3 separate regions of the Homo sapiens genome follow, and regions 2 and 3 are each linked to region 1. Evidence: promoter capture Hi-C in human tissues and cell types (Jung and others, 2019). All regions are on one chromosome and are shown on one strand. The core of a region is centred on a gene start or on the middle of the fragment in contact, and the rest is flanking DNA. Distances in the headings are between cores, read along the strand shown.

Region 1 (2,811 bases), core at 191-2,690:
CCACCCCAGGTAACACAGGCAAAGAGGCTTGGCCTGCAATGGCTGCACCAGCCGCCCGAGCTGCCTCCTCCTCTGGCTGCATGCTGCCGGCGATGCCATTGCTGTTGGCTGCCAAGGCTGCCCCGTTGGTCATGTCCAAAGGGAAGCCCAAGTCCGAGGTCCCAGGGGGGCGAAAGAGCATTATATCGGCGCGGGCAGGGGGTACCAGGATCTGTACGTTGGACTGTTTGATGACTTCCTGGCAGATCTCGATAACCGACCTCATCAGCAGGAACTTGGCGGCCGTCATGAGTTCGGGAAAGCTCTCCAAGCGCACCACGATGCGGGAAGTGTAGGCGAAGTCCAGAATGTCCCCAAATACCTTGGAGCTGATAGTGTGCATCTCCAGCTCCCGGCTGCCCCCGGCCCCGCCGCCTGGTGCTGCCGTCGCGCCCCCTACATCAGCCGGACCCCCGTCCGCAGCTCCGCCGTCGCCCAACTGGGCGCTGAACACCGACTCAAAGTACTCGCTGCAGGCGGCCAGCACGGCGCGGTGCGCTGGGAAGCTCTCGTCGCCTACCCGCAAGAGCACGTCGCAGAAGCGCCCGCCGTTTTTGCGCTGCTGGTTCAGGTTGTGCAGCATCTCCGTGCTGTGTCTGCTCACCTGGTATGTGTAGCAGCCAGACGGGCCGCACGAAGCGTCGTTCACCCGCTCCATGGCCGCCGCCCCCTCCCACTAGCCCGGCCGCTGCACCTGCCCGCCCCCTCCCTTCCCCTCAGCAGCGAGAAGCGGGGCGCAGCAGACGTGTCCACACTCCCCACACGTGCCGGCCCGAGGCTCTGTAGTCTCGCAGGTGCGCCGAGTGTACACGCCCCCAGCCCGGATCAGACTGTCTAGACTGCGGGGTGCACCACCCCCCACATAGCCAACCCCCGCCCTCGCTGGACTGCGCGCCACTCTCTCCTCTCCGCCCGCCCGCCTCCCCTTCCCGGTCTACCTTCCGGGGGGGTGCGCGAGCGAAGAGGTGCGCCCCTCCTGCAAACGCGCCTGCCACCTCCCCTCCCGCCCGCCAGGCGGCGCCGGCGCGCAGCCAAGAAGGGCACGCGCACGCGGGGAGGAGAAGGAGGGGTCCGCCGCGCAGGCGCGCGCGCGCGCCGCGGCTTTTCCCGGGCCCGCTGGGGGCGCGCGCTGCGTCCCCTGCAAAGCGCGAGCCGGGGCGGGGGCGCCGGAGCGGAGGAAACAAAAGGCGAAGGCGAAGGCGGCGGCGGCGGGGCGCGCACGGGGGCGGTGGCGCGGGCCGGGTCCCGGAGCCTGGAGGGCGGTGGCGGCGGCGGCGGCGGCTGGAGCGGGCGGGCGGCGGCGGCGGCAGAGTAGGCCCTTCCTCAGGCCGGGAGAAGGCGGCGGCGGAGCGGCGGCTGTGCGGCCCCGGGCTCCGTGTGTTCGGAGCGGAGGAAAGATGGCAGCGGCTGCACTTCCTCTTGCACTTTCACCCCTGGGGGGAGGAGAAGGAGGGGGCGATACCAACAACACCCCCCCTCTCGCTTGCAGAAAAAAAAGAAACGGCGAGCTCAGAGTGGGGGCCCCGGCGTCCCCGGCCTTGCACGTGCGCGCCCGGATGCCTAGCCCGGGCCGCCTGGCGCTGCAAACTTTACACTTTCTTTGTGCCGAGCGCCCCCCCCTCACCAAGACGAGGATGCACGTCCCCCCTTCCCTATTTATACACCCCCCCCCCGCAGTCCGCTCCCCCCGCTTCCTGCCCCCCCTCCCCATTCCCCAGATCCGCCAATGCTAGAGCAGCCTGAGCCCCCGTCCGGCCCCCGCCTCCCCACCCCGCCCGCGGGGCCGGGGGCTGCAGTCTCAGCCCCCCCGGACCAATGCAAACGAAGCGCCGAGCCAGCAAACCAGCTCCCACTGCCCCTCCCCTGCCCGCTGAGAGTGGCGGCTAGCAGGGTGGGGGGGCAGGAACTGAGGGGTGCGGATCCGGGCCCCCCAGCCTGCGAAGCGCACTCGCAGGTCGAGCGGGCGTCGTCCACCCTTCGGAGCCCCGCTTTCATGCGTGAAATTCCCAGAAGTCGCCTGCGACCGCCTCCCTGCTTCAAACACCAGAGAGGGCCCGGGGTCCTGGCCGGAGACAGGCCGAACCTCCGGAGCTGCTTCTGCACCCGGTACATTGATCGATCTGATGGGCTGCGCGCCCGGAAGAGCTGGAGAGATGAAGCCAGCGTCCAGCTTCTCCCCCAAACCACAGCACGCCGAGCTTTGTCCCCGGGGAGCGTGAAGTCACCAGCTCCGGGAGGCGACAATATGAGGGCGATGGACGGGGCAGGGACCCCCGGAAGCCCCAGCAATCCTCAGGGAAGTGGGGGTGCCGGAGGAGTCGGGGACACCCTCAGGCCTCTCCAAGCCCGGAGCATCCCCAGCGCCCGCAGCCCTGTGAGACGCCGGGTGCTCTGGTAATGGGCCCTGCCGCCAGGCCTCGGCGCTTTGTCCCCGGCCCGCCCGGGGATGCTACCACGCTAGAGTTGTACACCAAGGTTTGTCTTCCCAGGAAGCGCTGGCGGCTGCCTTTGGGCCGCCTGGCGCGGAGCCCCAGGCTGCAGGCGCCGCGTGTGCGGGCGGGAAGTTCCCACAGTTGCAAAGAGGCAGCGAAGTATGTGTTCCAAACTTTCCACGGTTCCAAACTGAGCGCTTCCATTAAGAGAAGCGGTGTGCGGGGGAAAAGCATTCTGGGTATTAGCATGCAAATGAACGGGCCCGGCTTCCAACTCCGCTCGGGATTCCCACCGCTGCGCGCCGAGCTCGCGCCCAGCCACGCGCGCCCTGAGGCTTCC
Region 2 (2,811 bases), core at 194-2,693, 320 kb after region 1:
AGTCTGCGAAGCAGAGGTTGCAGTGAGACAAGATGGTGCTACTGCACTTCAGCTTAGGTGAAGAAGTAAGACCCTGTTTCAAACAAACAAAACAAAACAAAACAACAGCCGGGCGTGATGGCTCACGCCTGTAATCCCAACACTTTGGGAGGCCAAGGCAGGCGGATCACGAGGTCAGGAGCTCGAGACCAGCCTGACCAACATGGTGAAACCCCATCTCTACTAAAAATACAAAAATTAGCCAGGCGTGGTGGCGCACACCTATAATCCCAGCTACTTGGGAGGCTGAGGCAGGAGAATCACTTGAACCCAGAAGGTGGAGGTTGCAGTGAGCTGAGATCGTGCCATTGCACTCCAGCCTGGGCAACAAGAGCGAAACTCTGTCTCAAAAAAAAAAAAAAAAAAAACCCTAATTCTCAAAATTGTACATTGAAACTGTCACATAATTAACTTTACATTTGGTTTATGGTTAATGGTAGGTATTAGAAAGTACACTTAAAAGTACTGTGACTTGGCCAGGTGCAGTGGCTCACGCCTGTAATCCCAACACTTTGGGAGGCTGAGGCGGGTGGATCACAAGCTCAAGAGATCGAGACCATCCTGGCCAACATGGTGAAAACCCGTCTCTATTAAAAATACAAAAATTAGCTGGGCATGGTGGCGCACGCCTGTAGTCCCAGCTACTTGGGAGGCTGAGGCAGGAGAATCGCTTGAACCCAGGAGGCAGAGGCTGCAGTGAGCCAAGATTGCACCACTGCACTCCAGCCTGGTGACAGAGTGAGATTCCATCTCAAAAAAAAGTAGCATGGCTTAATTAATTTGGGTTGGTGGCAGTGATTTGTATAGAAGGCTCCTGGAGGAAGGGATGTTTGCAATGCGACTTTGTGATAGGCTAAATAATACCACTACACCCCCATCCTCAGTGATGTCCACATTCTTTTTTTTTTTTTTTTAACAGAGTCTTGCTCTGTCACCCAGGCTGGAGTGCAGTGGCACGATCTCAGCTCACTGCAAGCTCCGCCTCCTGGGTTCACACCATTCTCCTGCCTCAGCCTCCAGAGTAGCTGGGACTACATGCGTCCACCACCGTGCTTGGCTAATTTTTTGTATTTTTAGTAGAGACGGGGTTTCACCGTGTTAGCCAGGATGGTCTTGATCTCCTGACCTCGTGATCCACCCGCCTTGGCCTCCCAAAGTGCTGGGATTACAAGCGTGAGCCACCGTGCCCGGCCAGTGATGTCCACATTCTAATCCTCAGAACCTGTGAATGTGTTATGTTACATGGCAAGCAAAATTGAGAAATGGAGAACAGATTAGTGGTTGCCAGAGATTAAAGAGAGGGTGGGAGTGGGAGGGAAATGTGTGCAGCTATAAAAGGACTAAGGCATCCTTGTAGGTCCTGGTAATAGAAATGTACTGTATCTTGACTATATGGATGTCAATACTGTGATTATGATATTGTATAGTTTTGCAAGATGTTACCATTGGGGGAAAATTGGGTAAAGGGTACACCAGGATCTCTGTATTATTTCTTTTTGTTTTTGTTTTTTAGATGGAGTCTCACTTTGTTGCCCAGGCTGGAGTGTGATGGTGTGACCTCAGCTCACTGCAACCTCCACCTCTTAGGCTCAAGTGATTCTTGTGTCTCAGCCTCCTGAACTGCTGGGATTACAGGCACACGCCACCACACCTGGGTAATTTTTATATTTTTAGTAGAGACTGAGTCACCACGCCCGGCCTCAAGTTTTTCATTTTAAAGATAAGGAGAGGTCACGTGACTCTGTGAAGGTCACAGGGTCAGCAAGTGAAATGGCTGGACTGGATACTGCAATCTGACTTCCAGGCTGCTGCATTTCACCCAAGGTGTCCAAAGTTTTCCAGGCTGAATTTTCATGACTCCTGGGCCTTCCAAAAAATACTGGGATAATGTGAGTATTGAAGTGGAACAACGGAATTCTGTGGCTGGTATCTGAATACAGAGCTATGGAAGAGAGGTTGTGGAATGCTAAAGTCATATAACCCCATTCAGCTCACAAAAGTTTTGTAACAATATGTTGCAAGAAAGTGATCTTGGCAGGGCGGGTGCAGTGGCTCACGCCTGTAATCCCAGCACTTTGGGAGGCCGAGGTGGGTGGTTCACCTGAGGTCAGGAGTTTGAGACCAGCCTGGCCAACATGGCAAAACCCCATCCCTACTAAAAATACAAAAATTAGTCAGCTGTGGTGGCTCATGCCTGTAGTCCCAGCTACTCGGGAGGCTGAGGTGGGAGAGTCACTTGAACCAGGGAGGTAGAGGATGCAGTGAGCCAAGATGGCACCACTGCAATCTAGCCTGGCAACAGAGCAAGACTCCATCTCAAAAGAAAAAAAAAAAAAAAGAAAGTGACCTGGAACTTTAATCATCTGAATGATGTGCAGCATGAAGTCTCTGAAAGAAATTCCAAGAAATCCTGCCAGATTTTAATTTCTGTGTGTTTGACGCTGCCAGAGACAGATAACTTGTTTTCATTGCTGTTGTTGTTTTGAGACAGGGTCTTGCTCTGTCCCCAGGCTGGAGTGCAGCTGGCACACTCACAGCTCTTTGCAGCCTGGGCCTCCTGGGCTCCAGAAATCCTCCCGCCTCAGTCTCACAAGTAGCTGGGACTACAGGCATGGACCACCACACCTGGCTACTTCGTTTGTATTTTTTGTAGAGACAGGGTTTTGCCATGTTGCCCAGGTTGGTCTCCAACTCCTAGGCTCAAGTGATCTGCCTGTCTCAGCCTCTCGAAGTGCTGGGATTATAGGTGTGAGCCACCACACCCAGCCATGA
Region 3 (2,811 bases), core at 203-2,702, 310 kb after region 1:
GTCTCACTCTGTTACCCAGGCTGGAGCGGATTTTGGCTCACTGCAACCTCCACCTCCCGGGTTCAAGCGATTGTCATGCCTCAGCCTCCTGAGTACCTGGAATTACAGGCGCATGCCACTGCACCTGACTAATTTCGTATTTTTAGTAGAGACAGAGTTTCACCACGTTGGCCAGGCTGGCCTCAAACTCCTGACCTCAAGTGATCCACCTGCCTCGGCCCGCCAAAGTGCTGGGATTACAGATGTGAGCCACAGCACTTGGCCCAAGTTATGTCTTGTATAGATATCCTACAAATGTTATCAGATTTAGGTACTTTCCTTTTTTCACATAAAATTTCCTTGCCTTACAAACACCTGGCTGAGCACATGATGGCTCACGCCTGGAATCCCAGCACTTTGGGAGGCCGAGGTGGGTGGATCACTTGAGGTCAGGAGTTCGAGACCAGCCTGGCCAACATGGTGCAACCCCGTCTCTACTAAAAATACAAAAATTAGCCGGGCGCGGTGGCACACATGCTGTAGTACCAGCTACTCGGGAGGCTGAGGCAGGAGAATCACAAAACAAAACAAAACAAACACCCCCCTTGCCAGGCTGGGCATTGTGGTTCACAACTATAATCCTGGCACTGTGGGAGGCTGAGGTGGGAGGATTGCTTGAGCCCAGGAGTTCAAGACCAGCCTGGGCAACATGGTGAAACCCCATCTGTACAAAAAATACAAAAATTAGCCGGGCATGGTGGCATGTGCCTGTAGTCCTACCTAACCAAAAAGTTGAAGTGGGAGGATCGCCTGAACCCAGGAGGCAGAGGTTACAGTGAGCCGAAAACACGCTACTGTACTCCAGGCTGGGTGACAGAGTAGGACCCTACCTTAAAAAAAAAAAAAAAAAAAAACCACACCCACCTTGCAGCATAGCACTATTGTAGCTAACATGATGAATCTGATTCTCCTATAGGCAAACAAGGAGAAAAAGCATCTTACCATGACGAGCACCACCCCCAAGGCCAGACAGCTATTAACACAATGAAGGGTATATTTCAGTATATGAAAGTTCTTTCAGTTCTGAACAATGTTCATTTCTTAGACTGGATACTCCCACTGCCACAGCAAAAAGCCTAAAACCCTGCTTTCTAAACAGAATTTTAACGAGAAGTGCAAAAACGGACTGAAGGATAAATTGTTGTGTTCTGTACATTGCCGCATTGTGTTTTCCAGAATACTGAAAAACCCCTAACTGAAAGAATGTTTGCACAATGATTAACAAGGCTTTGTCTGACAGGAGGAAATAGGAATGGGAGATGATCATTTATGTATCCACCGTAACTGGACACAGGGCACTCAGGTGGTTTGTTTTGCATATCCATCTTCCCCCTCAGGAACCCTGCCCAAGAACAAACAGCTCAGCTTTTTGTCCACCGCTGTAGTCCCAGCTGCTGGAACAAATACTGGGAAATGCTTCATTATATCAGTTTGGTACATCAGATTTAGGTACTTCCCTTTTTTCACATAAAACTTCCTTGACTTATAAACACCTAGCTGAGCATGGTGGCTCATGACTGTAATTCCAGCACTTTGGGAGGCCAAGGCGGGTGGATCACTTGAGGTCAGGAGTTCGAGACCAGCCTGGCCAACATGGTGAAACCCCATTTCCACTAAAAATACAAAAATTAGCCAGGTGTGGTGGCACACACGCTGTAGTACCAGCTACTCAGGAGGCTGAGGCAGGAGAATCTTATTACGGGATCGTCCCGATTTTCATATGAATGCTGTCATTTCTTCAGTCTTACACAAACACTGTCTACCATGCTATCATTCTTTGGTCCTCCCTACTTTTCTGCTCTCCTTCATTCCAAGCCTAAAAAGAGCTCTCCACTCACTGTTACCACTTCCTCACCTCTCAGCCTCTCTTAGTCCCACTCAGTAAGGTTTTGTTCCTATCACACCACCTCATCAAGGTCACCAACAACCTGCATGTTGCCAACACCAATGCACACACATATCTGAGGTCTCATCTTACTTGACGTCTCAGCAGCATGACACAGTTGATCCTTCTCTCCTTGAAACACTCTTCACTGGGCTTTTGGGACCGTGATTTTTTTCCTATTTCTCTGGTTTCTTCTCAGTCTCTATTTGTGAATTCTCCTTTGCTTCCTAACTGTGGATTCTTGCCATGCCCAGGGTTCAGATCTCTTCTCTACCTATAAACTCTCCCCAGAGATGCTTATCCAGTCCCATGGCTTTAAAGAACCATCCACTGATGACTCCTTCATTGCTCCTCCAGGGGCCAGCTACCCAATGGCCCCATTTTGAGTCCTCTCAAACTGAGTCTGTAGAAGACAGGATTCCCGACCCTCTCTAACTCACCTTCAATCTGCTCCTGCCCGAGTTCTCTATCCATAGGAGAGACTAGCCAGATGTTTACCAAATGCACTTCCTCTTCTGGACACCTGTTAGACTAAATTTCCCAGCCTCCTGTGCAGCAAGGTGTGGCCATGAGACTAAGTGTGAACCAATGAAATCTGAGGATCATTCGGGCTTCCCAGGCATTCACCTCCAAGCTTACCCCCACCAGCCAGCTTGATGCAGACAAACATGCCGACTGTGGGAAGTATTAAAGATGGCAGGAAGGCCAGGCGTGGTGGCTCACACCTGTAATCCTAATACTTTGGGAGGCCAAGGTGGAGGAATTGCCTGAGCTCAGGAGTTTGAGACCAGCCTGGGCAACACGGTAAAACCCAGTAGCTACTAAAATCCAAAAAATTAGATGGGCGTGGTGGTGTGCCCCTGTAATCCCAGCTACTGGGGAGGCTG

What was found. The method cuts DNA at HindIII sites, captures the fragments that hold promoters and counts their contacts. A contact is called where the count stands out against the background at its distance.
Region 2: a contact is called between a fragment that was not itself captured here and the fragment with the promoter of PATZ1 in region 1, in 1 of the 25 tissues and cell types used here (thymus).
Region 3: a fragment that was not itself captured here is called in contact with the fragment with the promoter of PATZ1 in region 1 in 1 of the 25 tissues and cell types used here (lymphoblastoid cells).

Annotation. Positions count from the first base shown.
Region 1 is chr22:31,344,906-31,347,716 of GRCh38, forward strand. PATZ1 (POZ/BTB and AT hook containing zinc finger 1) reads right to left here and starts at 1,441. Exons shown (of 5, transcript NM_014323.3): 1 at 1-1,441. The coding sequence starts at 697. It overlaps LINC01521 (long intergenic non-protein coding RNA 1521), which reads left to right and starts at 1,854. Exons shown (of 1, transcript NR_120386.1): 1 at 1,854-2,811. RefSeq lists silencers at 197-266, 817-1,236, 1,607-1,676, 1,727-1,946. The HindIII fragment of the contact is 10,371 bases long and covers 1-2,811 here.
Region 2 is chr22:31,669,336-31,672,146 of GRCh38, forward strand. No RefSeq gene overlaps it. Among named protein-coding and RNA genes, the nearest start is that of PISD, 8.5 kb to the left of the region's middle. The HindIII fragment of the contact is 7,943 bases long and covers 1-2,811 here.
Region 3 is chr22:31,652,167-31,654,977 of GRCh38, forward strand. The region is part of intron 1 of PISD (phosphatidylserine decarboxylase); the gene reads right to left. Among named protein-coding and RNA genes, the nearest start is that of PISD, 8.6 kb to the right of the region's middle. The HindIII fragment of the contact is 4,585 bases long and covers 1-2,811 here.